Regions from separate parts of the Homo sapiens genome. Here region 2 is linked to region 1. The links are contacts of gene promoters, found by promoter capture Hi-C in human tissues and cell types (Jung and others, 2019). All regions are on one chromosome and are shown on one strand. The core of a region is centred on a gene start or on the middle of the fragment in contact, and the rest is flanking DNA. Distances in the headings are between cores, read along the strand shown. Region 1 holds the start of ALAD (aminolevulinate dehydratase). Region 2 overlaps LOC105376223 (a long non-coding RNA gene).

Evidence for each region. Contacts are between HindIII fragments. The study calls those that stand out against the background at their distance.
Region 2: a contact is called between a fragment that was not itself captured here and the fragment with the promoter of ALAD in region 1, in 1 of the 25 tissues and cell types used here (IMR-90 fibroblasts).

What each region holds. Positions count from the first base shown.
Region 1 is chr9:113,398,120-113,404,065 of GRCh38, reverse strand. It overlaps ALAD (aminolevulinate dehydratase), which reads left to right and starts at 2,782. Exons shown (of 12, transcript NM_000031.6): 1 at 2,782-2,854. RefSeq lists silencers at 2,471-2,830, 2,981-3,030 and an enhancer at 3,046-3,626. The HindIII fragment of the contact is 12,556 bases long and covers 1-5,946 here.
Region 2 is chr9:113,666,672-113,673,205 of GRCh38, reverse strand. The region is part of intron 2 of LOC105376223 (a long non-coding RNA gene); the gene reads right to left. Among named protein-coding and RNA genes, the nearest start is that of RGS3, 210 kb to the right of the region's middle. The HindIII fragment of the contact is 8,145 bases long and covers 1-5,583 here.

The DNA of each region.
Region 1 (5,946 bases), core at 1,533-4,032:
GACCTTTGGCCTTGCCCCGTTTTTTTTTAATAAGCTTTTTATATTTCAACAGTTTCTCTACTTATGTCCTTTTTCGATTACAGGGGCCAACCCAGAATACCACATTGCATCTAGTGAACTCACTTTTTAAGACTGAGATGAAATTCAAAGAACATAGAATTAACCATTTTTAAATGAGCAGTTCAGTGGCATTTAGAACAGTCACAATGTTGTGCAACCACTACCTCTATCTAGTTTCAAAACATTTTCCTCAGGCCCTGGCAATCAGCAGTCTGCTTTCTTTCTTGTTCCTTTTTTATGCTTTTCACAGCATTTAGCACAATGCCATATACCTACCTAGAAGACACTCAGAATAGTTTAGTTTTAACTTTTTATTGAAACGAAATATACATACTAAAAGACACAAATAAGTGTGGAGCTTAATGAATTTTCACGAATTAAACACAGCCATGTAACTCACACCCAGACCAATAAACATTAACTGCATCCAAAGAAACCTCTTTAGTCTCCCCCTGCCGCCTTTTTTTTTTTTTTTTTTTTTTTTTTTTCTGGAGACAGGGTCTTGCTCTGTCATCCAGGCTGGAGTGCAGTGGTACGATCACAGCTTACCGCAGCCTTGACCTCCCAGGCTCAAGCAATCCTCCCATGTCAGCCTCCCAAGTAGCTGGGACTACAGGTGTCCACCACCATGCCCAGCTACTTTTTGTAATTTTTGTAGAGACTGTTTCGCCATGTTGCCAAGGTTGGTCTTGAACTCCTGGGCTCAAGCGATCCACCAGCCTTGGCCTCCCAAAGTGCTAGGATTACAGGTGTGAGCCACCACACCCAGCCTAATCTCCCTTTCAATCCTCCCCATCTCCCCAGTGGAAATCACTATTCTGAGTCCTAACAACACAGCTTAATTTTGCTTGATTGTGTAGTTAATATAAATGAAATCATATTATATACTATTTTGTGTCTCACTTCTTTTACTCAACAATATGTTTAAGATTTATTCATATTATTGCATTCACAATACTGAAAGATTAAGGTAAAATGTTTCAAAAGGTGGAGGCTGGGGGGAGAGTGGGAACAGGTCTTTCAGTCAAGAAGAAGAAAAGACATGGGGGAAATAAGCTACACCAAACAGCAACATTTTAAAATTTCCCGTTCTATTTGGGTTCTTAGATGGTTCTAATTATTTTTAGTTACCAATAACCTCAGGGAAGGAATGAGTGTCAGGAAAGAAATGTCGGGCAGGGAATCTAGGAAAAAACAAATAATAATTGCCCCTATGGAGTGTGGTTATTAGCAGGCATTGCAGAGAGAGCCCAGTGTAACATGGGGCAAATTATTTAATCTAGCTGGCAATTGTTTTCCCAATCCGTAAAGTGAGAATAGTAACATCGTTGCTGTCAAGATTAGATAAATGAATGTAAAATGCATGGTACTGTCCCTGACTCTTTAATGCACAGCAAACATTATTTGCTTTCTATCCCCTTCCTTGTTGAATACAGATCAGAACTCCAGTAGCTGGAAACTAAGCAGTGTCATATTTCCCTAGCCTTACGCCGCTAGGCCCCTTAAATTTAAAATATAAAGTATACAACAGGTTTGGGGTACAGATTTTGAGAAATTTAAAAAAAAATTTTTTTTTGAGACAGAGTCTCCCTCTGTCACCCAGGCTGGAATGCAGTGGCATGATCTCAGCCCATTACAACCTCCGCCTCCCGGGTTCAAGCGATTCTCCTGCCTCAGCCTCCCGAGTAGCTGGGATTACAGGAGCCCGCCACCACGCCCGGCTAATTTTTTGTATTTTTAGTAGAGACAGGGTTTCACCATGTTGGTCAGGCTGGTCTTGAACTCCTGACCTCAAGAGATCCGCCCGCCTTGGCCTCCCAAAGTGCTGGGATTACAGGCGTGAGCCACCGAACCGGGCTGAGAAATAAAATCTGAGAATAAGTGTAATGTAACCCACTAGTGTCCTCTACATTTGAAAGTCAACTTTTCAATAATCCCTGAAGAACCACCTGAAAGGCATTGCTTCGCTAGGGCGATGATGCCCGATCGCCATTTTACTCATCCAATCCTACTGGTTTACCCAGGCCCCATAAGCCTCACCAGATCCCTCTTGCCTCTGCACATCTCCAATCTCCATAAAGACCTTTGATCGGATCTATCATTGTACCTATCATAGGTCTGATGCCCCTATCAAGACTTGGAGTTTTCCTAAACGCCCATGTCTTTCACATCACATCTCTCAACTCATAGCATTGCCGTACCCTGAGAAATAAATGAAGCTGGTACAAATTTTCTCTGAAAACTTGGAAGCCTGGCGCTGAACTCAACAACTTTAGCTTAGTCCGCAAAAATGGACTTAGCTAATACTGTGTTAGGCATAATGGTGCTGTTTTAACGGCTTTGACATCCAATTATTCTTTCACCAAGCCATTAACCAGAGCCAAGTTTGCCCTAGGCTGGGCAAAGGAATGCTGTGAAGTGAAACCTGGGCTGTAACCGCCTCCGAGGCCGGCTCACACCCAGGGACCCTCCCAAGCGGTTCCTGCGCCCCCTCGTGGCCTCCCTCCTGCAGTTCGCTGCACAAGCGCAGGGCCCGGAGCGGGGACGGGCGGGCCCTCCAGGCCCTCGACACACCCAATTGGCCAGGCCTCGTTGCGTGTGGGCGGGGCCGCGGCTGGAGCGGAGGAGCCCCCCAGAAGACCGCCTTCAGGGGGCGTGGCCTGGACTGTGGAGGGGGCGGACCGTGGGGAAGCTGCTTCCGGGTGAGCCCCCCCCGCTCTTACGCGGTCTGTGGGAGACCGGAGCGGGAGACAGCGGTGACAGGAGCAGCGGCCGGGAGCCCTTAGGGAGGCAGGTGAGCGGGGGCTGGATGCGGGGAGATAGCGGGCCTGGAGGGCGGCTCCAGGGCGAGGCGGGGACTGTGGCACCAAGAGTCCTGCGTCCCCAGATTGTGCTGTGCGCCTGAAGCCCTGGCGGTGCAGCCGTGCACGGAGTCCCGTGGAGCGTTTGTTTGGGCTGGATTATCCCGCTGCAGCCGAGGTTGGGGGCCCGGGTTCGGGGCTCCGCACCTCTTCTCTGGGGTTCACCCTCTCGGATACCGCCTGGGCAGACTCCATCGATGCAGAACCCGAGGTGCGGGTGGTGGTTGGTGGGGGGGTAGGGAGGTGAAAACAATAACAGCCGTTTTGTACTAAGCGTTGCGTGCATTGACCATTCATTTATTTTATTTATTTATTTATTTTTGAGACGGAGTTTCGCTCTTGTTGCCCAGGCTGGAGTGCAATGGCGCGATCTCAGCTCACTGCAACCTCCGCCTCCCGGGTTCAAGCGATTCTCCTGCCTCAGCCTGCCAACTAGCTGGGATTACAGGCGTGTGCCACCACGCCTGCTAATTTTTGTATTTTTAGTAGAGATGGGGTTTCTCCCTGTTGGTCAGGCTAGTCTCGAACTCCCGAGCTCAGGTGATTCGCCCACCTCGGCCTCCCAAAGTGCTGGGATTACAGGCGTGAGCCACCACGCCCGGCCTGACCCATTCATTTCTTACAACAACCCATTGAGGTCGGTTCTAGTCCCCATTTACTAAACGAAGAAACTGAGGTCACACAACTAGAAAGCTACAGAACTAGGATTTGTACCCACATCTATCAGACTCCAGAGCCCACATACTTAACCATCCTGCTACCAACAGCAGCCAGGCCCAGAGTCTGGCTCACCCAAAGCTCTCCACAAGCCCAACCTGCTGGGAAACAGATTTGATATCTATCCTTAAAGTATGGAGGTGTCATGGTGGGCACTGAGGACTGGGCTGCTGGAGACCTTCCCCCAGATCTGCCGCTGACCCACTGCGTGATCCTGGGCCTGTGTCTACCCCTCTCTGAGCCCAGTTTCACCCTTGTTTCAGTGATACAATCAGCAAACTTTAAGAAGACTCTTAGCCAAGATATTCTAGGATTCTGGGAATGGCAGCTTCTCCTACGTCTAAATGGCTAACCCCAGAGGCGATCAGGCTCTTCAAAGCCCCAGGGCAAGGCTGGGGTCTCATTCTTCTCTTTAATCCCTGTGTCTAGCACTTCAGCAGGCCCATAGTAGATATTCAAGAAATGTGGGTTGGCTGAATAAACACTTCATCTCTTTTCAGAACTGCATGACAGCTGCTCTCCTGGGCCTTTGTGGGGCTTTGGATTTCTCAGTTCTGGCCACCTTCTATCTAGCTGGCTCTCCTGACTGCCTCCTCCCTGGCCAGTGGCAGAGCCTGCCAGGGCTGGCAGCAGGTCCTAAGCCTCTGTGCGAAGACCCACAGCCTCTGGAATCCTCAGCATAGTACAACTTGCAGGGGTGGGGGGTGGCACATGAAGCTCATAGCCCCTCCTGGTAGCAGTGCTCAGGGCCCAACTTCAGTTACTCCCAGTTTGGGGATGTTGCCTTCCATGGGAGGAGATACTTTCATATTAAATCTGAAACACTTCTTATCCTTCACTGTCCCCTCTTCCATGAAACCACCCTTGACTCAGAGACACAGTCCCTCTGACAGCACCTGGTCCACCCCTCTACTCTGGCAGCCCGGTGGTGATTATTTTGTTTTTCCTCCACCACATAACCTGCTGGAAGGCAGGGACTCCACTTCAGAAATCTTGGAAAACCCTGTGGCCCACAAGGGTTTGAGCTCATATTCCCATCTGGTGAGGTGCAGAAGGCACAGAGCTGTGCCAGGACATCTCGTTCCAACCCAGCCCCACTCCTAATAGTAATAAAAGTAGCTACATGTTTACTGTGCAGCTACTTGGTGCCAGACACCTACCTTATCCCTATCAATAATCTCCACAGCCTTGCAAGTTAGAGATATCATGCCTATTTTGTAGATTATGAAATGAACACTGAAAGGTCAATTACTTTGCCCAAAATTACACAGCAGAGCATAGACCAAACCTGGGACTGTCTGACCCTGAAACATGGATCTTTCTGCACCGCCCTATACTCTGCGTCCCAGCAAAGCTAACCTGTCTGATGTGGTTGGGCAGAGGTGCTGGACCTCCTGGCGGCTCGCTCCTGTCTTCAGTGTGGTAATGTCACAGGCATTTAAATTGTGGTTTGCAAGCTCGCTTGATTTGGGAGAAGTGCCCTCCCAGTCTGTGAAATTCTCCCAAACTCTAAGGGCCTTTTTGCAAAGCAAAACCCACCCTGCATTTGGCTCTGCCAATATGTGATTCAGGGGGTGTTTTCCCACTCACAGAATGGAGTGGGAAACTCCACTTATTAAGTACCTCTTACAATGGAATGACTCTATGGTGTAGGTATCAGGGCACTGAAATAGAAGCCAGGAGCTGCAGGGTCAGTTTATAGCTCTGTATGTCACTCACTGTGATCTCCAAAAGTCCCGTTGCCTCTTTATACCCCATTTTCCACATTAAAGTGTAAGGGATTAAACAGGATTGGCAATTTTCAAGCTTTTAATATTTTCAGCACTGACAGCCGTTTCTCAAATCAAATCTGTCTCTGAATCTTAAAATTCAAAAACAGATCAAAGTGGACTGCTGTAGTGAGACTGTTCCCTTTACTCTAACCCTGCCCCGGTCTCAGGCTCCTAGGCAGTCCTGCCCCAGGGTTTCTGCTAAGCAGGAGCCAGTTGTTCCCTCAGCCTCCTAAAAGCGATGGGGAGTTGAGGCCAGTGGAATGCAGCTTTGGATTCAGAAGCCAGAAAACAACAGAGATTGTTTGTGGGAAGTGAGTCAGAGAGATTAGACCTCTCTTCAACATCTGACTAGACTCTAGAATGGCATTAAGCAAGTCACTGAACCGCTCAGAGCCTCTGTTTCCTTATCACTAAAAGTTAGGACAATTCTTGCAATGAAATGAGATACTACTACCAAGTACTTCAGTGCTGTGCCCAGCACAGAACGAATACACTCAGTATGTTTTTCTTTTGTTTCTTCTGTCTCTCCAGCACCC
Region 2 (6,534 bases), core at 262-2,761, 270 kb before region 1:
CTGAGACTACAGGCACCTGCCACCATGCTCGGCAAATTTTTGTATTTTAGTACAGACCATGCCTGCTCAAAACTCCTGACCTGGCTGGGTGAGGTGGCTCACACCTGTAATCCCAGCACCTTGGGAGGCTGAGATAGGCAGATCACGAGGTCAGGAGATCGAGACCATCCTGGCTAACACGGTGAAACCCCGTCTCTACTAAAAATACAAAAAAATTAGCCGGGGGTGGTGGCGGGCACCTGTAGTCCCAGCTACTCAGGAGGGTGAGGCAGGAGAATCACTTGAACCTGGGAGGTGGAGGTTGCAGTGAGCCGAGATCACGCCACTGCACTCTAGCCTGGGTGAAAGAGCAAGACTCCGTCTCAAAAAAAAAAAAAAAAAAAAAAGAAAGAAAGAAAAGAAAAAAAGTTAAGGGCTGCTGTGATCAGGGGAAGGAGGGCTAGGCAAACAGAAACCAGCAACAACAGACCCACTTCGCCAGAAGCTCAAGCTGGCATGGGCCAGTTGAGGCCACTGCAGGCATGGAGCCAAGGAGACCGATAGGATGGCAAGGGGTCTGGCCTAGGCTTCCAGTTCGTTGCTCCAGATTGAGATCCTACCAGGAGGGTCTTTGCAAAGCTCAGAACTTAGATCACTCAGGAAGGGGCCTGGCCATCTCTTCCTGCCCGAGCGGGTGGCTGGGGTGGCTGGGATGCTGCATAGAGCCCTGGTGCAGGAGGTAGCCACTGTGAGCCCAAACCCAGCTCTACCCTCATGCAGCCCTGTGCTACTCCTCTCCTGGGGACCTCAGTCTTCCTGCCCATAAATAAAGCTCTTCCAGCAGCAATAGCCTCTGACCTTTACTAGGTCTAGCCTGGCCCAGCCCCATCCATCCACCCACGTCAGATCTGTAACAAGTCCTGGAAAGGAGTTTGAGCACATCTCACTCCTGCTCTCCTGGGGAGTGGCCCAGACGAAATCTCAGATGAGGGAAAAGGGACGATTTGGAAAGACAAGAGAGTGAAGTAACCAAACGAATGCTTTGAGCAAAAATTCAAAATTCTGTGTAATTGGAAGGCAATATTTATACCAACCGTGGACACAACAGCAGTGATAGGTCAAGGAACACAGGCTTTCTTAATACTGGGTGAAAAAGGACAAAATTTATAAACTGGCAGGCCTGAAATTTTGGCCACAAGGGCCTGGCAGAGCAGCTGTCACCAACCTGAGACTGCAGCGTTACCATGAAGGCTGAGTCCTTACTGTGCCGGGCACTGGTGTTCCGGGGTCCCGGGGTCTCTTGGCCTGGGCTTTTACGATCTTGCTGGGCTGAGAGAACAGATCCTCTTGCTGATGGCACCTGTGGTCAGGATGGGGGCCAGCCATCGGCAGATGGCCAAGCTGACATTATTTGTTATTTAAGTTAATCGTCAAGTGTCTTGTTTTAATTCACCTGAAGGACCTCAACTTGCAAATTGTAATTAGCCAGAGAGAGAGAAAGGGCACAAGTACAGTCTTCCATCTATCTAACAAGACCTAACAAGGTCATCGGCGTGTGGGATCAAGAGACGCAAATGGCTGCTTCAAGGGAACTCACGGAGAAAACAATTGCCTGGAGATGAGTTTGTGCATCTGAAAGTGTGCCCGTTGTGGGAGAGGATCTCCATGCCCAGCCTGTCCGCCCTGTGAACGCTCATCACGCCTTCCTGCCTGGGCCTTCAGCTTTATTTTTGTGTGTTATTAAGTCTTGGGTTCAGAGGGAGATCCAGAACTCAGTGGCCCAAACTGGTGACCAGTATGGGATCTCTCTCTGTGGGCGCTGAGCGTGTTGGCTTTGTAGATTCACTCTGGGAAGCCCTGGACCGAACGCTCTCACCCATGGGGACCTAGTGCATCCAAGGATGGCCTTTTTGTTCCTTTGAGAGGCACTATGCCTTCCAAGAAATCCATTTGTCCCCCCAGGATGACACAGGATACGACCCCTTCCCCAGGAATCAAACCACTCGTTCCCTCAGGATTGGGTCATTTATTGATGCCCCTGTTCAGCAACTACAGTCATGTGCCATAGGACGTTTCAGTCGATGACAGACCGCATATAAGTTGGTGGTCCCATCAGATGATAATACTGCATTTTTACCGTCCATTTTCTATGTTTAGACACACAAATACTTACCATTGTGTTACAGTCACCTACAGTCTTCAGTACAGTGCCGCAAGTGCAGGTTAGTAGCCTAGGACCCACAGGCTAGACCATGTAGCCTAGGTGTGTGGCAGCCTCTACCATCTAGGTTTGTGTGAGTACACTTTTATGACATTTGCACAAAATCACCTAATGACGCATTTCTCAGAACGCATCCCCATTTGTTAAGCGACACATGACTATACTTAAGAGCATGGACAACAAGCCAGGGTCTGGGCCAGGTGTGGGGATTCAGCAAGAAGCAAGACTGGCTTGGTCCTTCCTTCAGGACACTGACAGTTCAGGGGACAAGTAATTACAACTGCAGTGAATGTTGTGAGTGGTAAGCACATCAGTGGGGCAAGAGCGTGGACCAGAGCGAGTGATCAGGGGGCCCAGACCCCCTAAGGAAAAGTGACTTGTAAGCCACACCCCCAAGATAAGGAGGAGGGGATGGAAGAGCCTCCTGGGCTCAGCTAGCGGTGCGTGCAGCGTTACCCTGAAGGCCTAGTCCTTACCGTGTTGGGCACTGAGACTGGCATGTTAGAGGAAATGCTTTTGCAGCTGAACCGTGGACTCAACAGAGGAGAGGAAGTAGAAGAAATAGACAAAGCCAGTTTTGGTAGCCCTTGTAGGCATGAGCCCTTTGGCTTCATTCTGAGGATAACAGAAGACCATGAAAGTATTTTGGAGGAATTGCCTTTTCCTTTTGGTTCCAGAGAGATCCTTTTGGTTCCATGATAGTGATGGATTGTAGGGAGCGGATGCAGGGCAACTCCAGCATTGAGATTGGCTCCTTTTGGATACTCAATTGCTATTTCAGATTATTCAGCTACTTTTGAGTAGAATAAAAGAACTGGGCCACAAAACATCAATTGTGAAAAGTGGAGAAGCATGACACAAATTAAGGAATTATTGGGTGAAATCTGGCTTGAGGGAAATAGATTAATCAGGAGGGCACCTAGTGTAACAACCAACCTCAAAATTTTCAAAGGCAAAACACCATAAAAGTTTAGTTTTGCTCATACAACCATCCCCCAAGGGTGTTTCTGGTTATAAAGCTCTCCTGGATGGCTCTCCTCCAGGGGGTGACTCGGGATCCAAGCTCCTTCTAGCTTGCGGTGCTGTGGGATTTTCTGCATCTGGCCAGCAGATGATGTAAGAATGTGGAGATTCGCATGAGGAGGTTTTCACAAATCAGGCCTGGAAGCAGAGTATGTCACCTCCATCCACATTCTATTGACCAGAACCTGAAGACAGGCCTGCACCTCACTGCAAGGAGGCTGGGTAATGCAGGCTACATGTAAGCCCAAGAGGAAAAGGGAAGTGGTTTGGGGGAAACTAGCCTATCTCTGTCACAGAGGAGCTGCCACTGGGAAACTCAGACCCGGAGAGGAAAAGTTGTTTGCTGATGGTTACCCTTCAGGTTGGTGACAGCAAGGAGACCAGAATCTTACAATTCTTGATTCTCAAATCCATCATTTTCCCCTTTTCTGTAGTGGGCATGCTTATCAATATGTGGTGAGGTCATGCTGCTCTGAAGTGTCAGGAAATAGAAAATCAGTCCAGCAAGCTTTTATGAGGGCCTGCTATTGCAATTGGTAGAAAGACAACAAATAGGCCGGAGGCGGTGGCTCACGCCTGTAATCCCGACACTTTGGGAGGCTGAGGCAGGGGGATCACAAGGTCAGGAGATCGAGACCATCCTGGCCAACATGGTGAAACCCCATCTCTAATGAAAATACAAAAATCAGCCAGGCATGATGGTGCGCACCTGTAGTCCCAGCGACTCAGGAGGCTGAGGCAGGAGAATCACTTGAACGCAGGAGGTGGAGGCTGCAGTAAGCTGAGATTGCGCCACTGCAGTCCAGCCTGGGCAACAGAGCAAGACTCTGAGAAAGAAAGAAAGAAAGAAAGAGAGAGAGAGAGAGAGAGAAGGAAGGAAGGAAGGAAGGAAGGAAGGAAGGAAGGAAGGAAGGAAGGAAGGAAGGAAGGAAGGAAGGAAGGAAAGAGAAAGAGAGAGAGAGAGAGAGAGGGAGAGAGGGAGGGAGGGAGGGAGGAAAGAAAGAGAGAAAAGAAAGAAAGAAGGAAGGAAGGAAGGAAGGAGAAAGAGAGAGAGAAAGCAAGAAAGAGACAAATATATGATTTTCTGCCTTCAAGTAGCTCACTGTTTCCCAGGCAAAGGGGACCATGTGCCAGGGGCATTCAGAGTAGAAAAGAAATGGTATCCGGCCCCTTAGGAGACAGCGGTGAGCTGAGCCTCAAAGGGCAGGCAGGGCTTTTGTGTTTGTTTCAATTTTGTTGTGTTTCTGGGGTTTTTTGTTAGTGTTGTTGTTTTGGTTTTTGTGCTTTTTCTAGTTTTCATGGAGGTGCCATTTGGGCTATAGGGCCCTGGCAGTTAAGGACATTAAATATTTATTCACAACCCAGCGTGACCTCTCCTGGATGTCTATCTCAGAGACATCTCCTCTCACACCCTGCGTCTCGCATCTTATGGTACAAAAAGAAGCCCTGCCGCCCCTTGAGGCTACTCCAGCAGTGTAGTTTGGAGGATCAGGGACTTTGAGACCACCAGGGTGTCCATTGCTGAAGAAATGCATGAGAAAAATGTGGTGAATTCTCACCATGGAAAAACATTGTGCATGGTTATAAGCAACTATTACAGACCATTGAATATACTTCGGTGCTAAGAGAGGAAAGAAAAAAAAAAACCAGACTGAGAGCTACGGCACGGAATTAGTCATGTTAATTAAAAGCAGATATACACAGAATAGCACAACATGTTTTATAAGGATTCATGCATATTTAAGAACATATATCAAATACATGAGGGAAAATGCCCATGGGGGAAACAGAATGGTGGTGGGAATCAGGGATAAATGAGAAAAAGGTTAAAAAAAAAAAAACCCAAACCCACAAAAAAGGTTGTGTGCAGTTCAACAGTGAGAATGTGCCAGGGGCTGGGAGATGAGTACCTTTGCTCTCTGTAGCTGAGTCTGATAAAAACAGAAAGATGGTCGGTGGCGGTGGCTCACGCCTGTAATCCCAACACTTTGGGAGGCCGAGGCAGCCGGATCACCTGAGGTCAGGAGTTCGAGACCAGCCTGACCAACACAGAGAAACCCCGTCTCTACTAAAAATACAAAATTAGCCAGGCATGGTGGGGCATGCCTGTAATCTCAGCTACTCAGGAGGCTGAGGCAGGAGAATTTCCTGAACCTGGGGGGCAGAGGTTGTGGTGAACCGAGATCGTGCCATTGCACTGCACTCCAGCATGGGCAACAAGAGTGAAACTCTGTCAAAAAAAAAAAAAAAAGTCCTGGTGCAGTGGCTCACACCTGTAATCCCAGCACTTTGGGAGGCCGAGGCGGGCGGATCACGAGGTCAGGAGATCAAGACCATCCTGGCTAACACAGTGAAACCCCATCTGTACTAAAAATACAAAAAAATGAGTCGGGCTTGGTGGCGGGCGCCTGTAGTCCCAGCTACTCGGGAGGCTGAAGCAGGAGAATGGCATGAACCTGGGAGGCAGAGCTTGCAGTGAGCCGAGATCGAGCCACTGCACTCCAGCCTGGGTGACAGAGCAAGACTCCGTCTCAAAAAAAAAAAAAAATCTAAACAGGGAAAGGGCAACCCAAGGTAGCAGGGTACCACACATAAGCCAAGACCTGGAATCTTCTTCCCCCAACTCTTCACTTAACCAGCTCCTTCTTATCTTCAGTCCTTGATCTGAACGTCCCCTCCCGAGAGAAGCTGGACCTGCTTGCCTTATATAAAATGCCCTCATCATTCCCTATCGTAGTCCTGTACTCTCTTGCGTATGCAACACACACTTTGTAATTTAAAATGCAGCTGCTTATTTATGGTCTGTTTTCCTCACCAATCAGCAAACTCTCTAAGGGCAGAAAGTCATTTTGTCTTACTGCCCAGCACACCAGCAGGGCCACACCTAGAATTAGTTTCAGCTCTAGGTCAAGCACATCACATGTATTGGCTTATTAAGCTCCCATCCCAGCTCTATGAGATGGGTCCTATTATTCTCTCTATTTTATAGAATGGAAACTTGGACACAGAGAGGTTTAGCAAATTGCCTAACACCACACAGCTGGAAAGTAGATGAGCTTGGATTTGACCCCAGACAGTCTGGCCCTGGAGTTCATGTTCATATCCGCTTGCTATACCACCTCTCCATACCACATTCACAGGGTGTACAGTGACTGAGTGAAAGAATGAATAAATGCAGGGGAGAACGGGGAGGTGGCCTGGATGATTACACCAGCATTAACAAACACGTTTGGGTGCAGCTTCCATTTCTAAGTTGTTATGCTCTAAAGAGTTATTTTTCCTCTAAGATGATAATCTTAATAAATTATAGA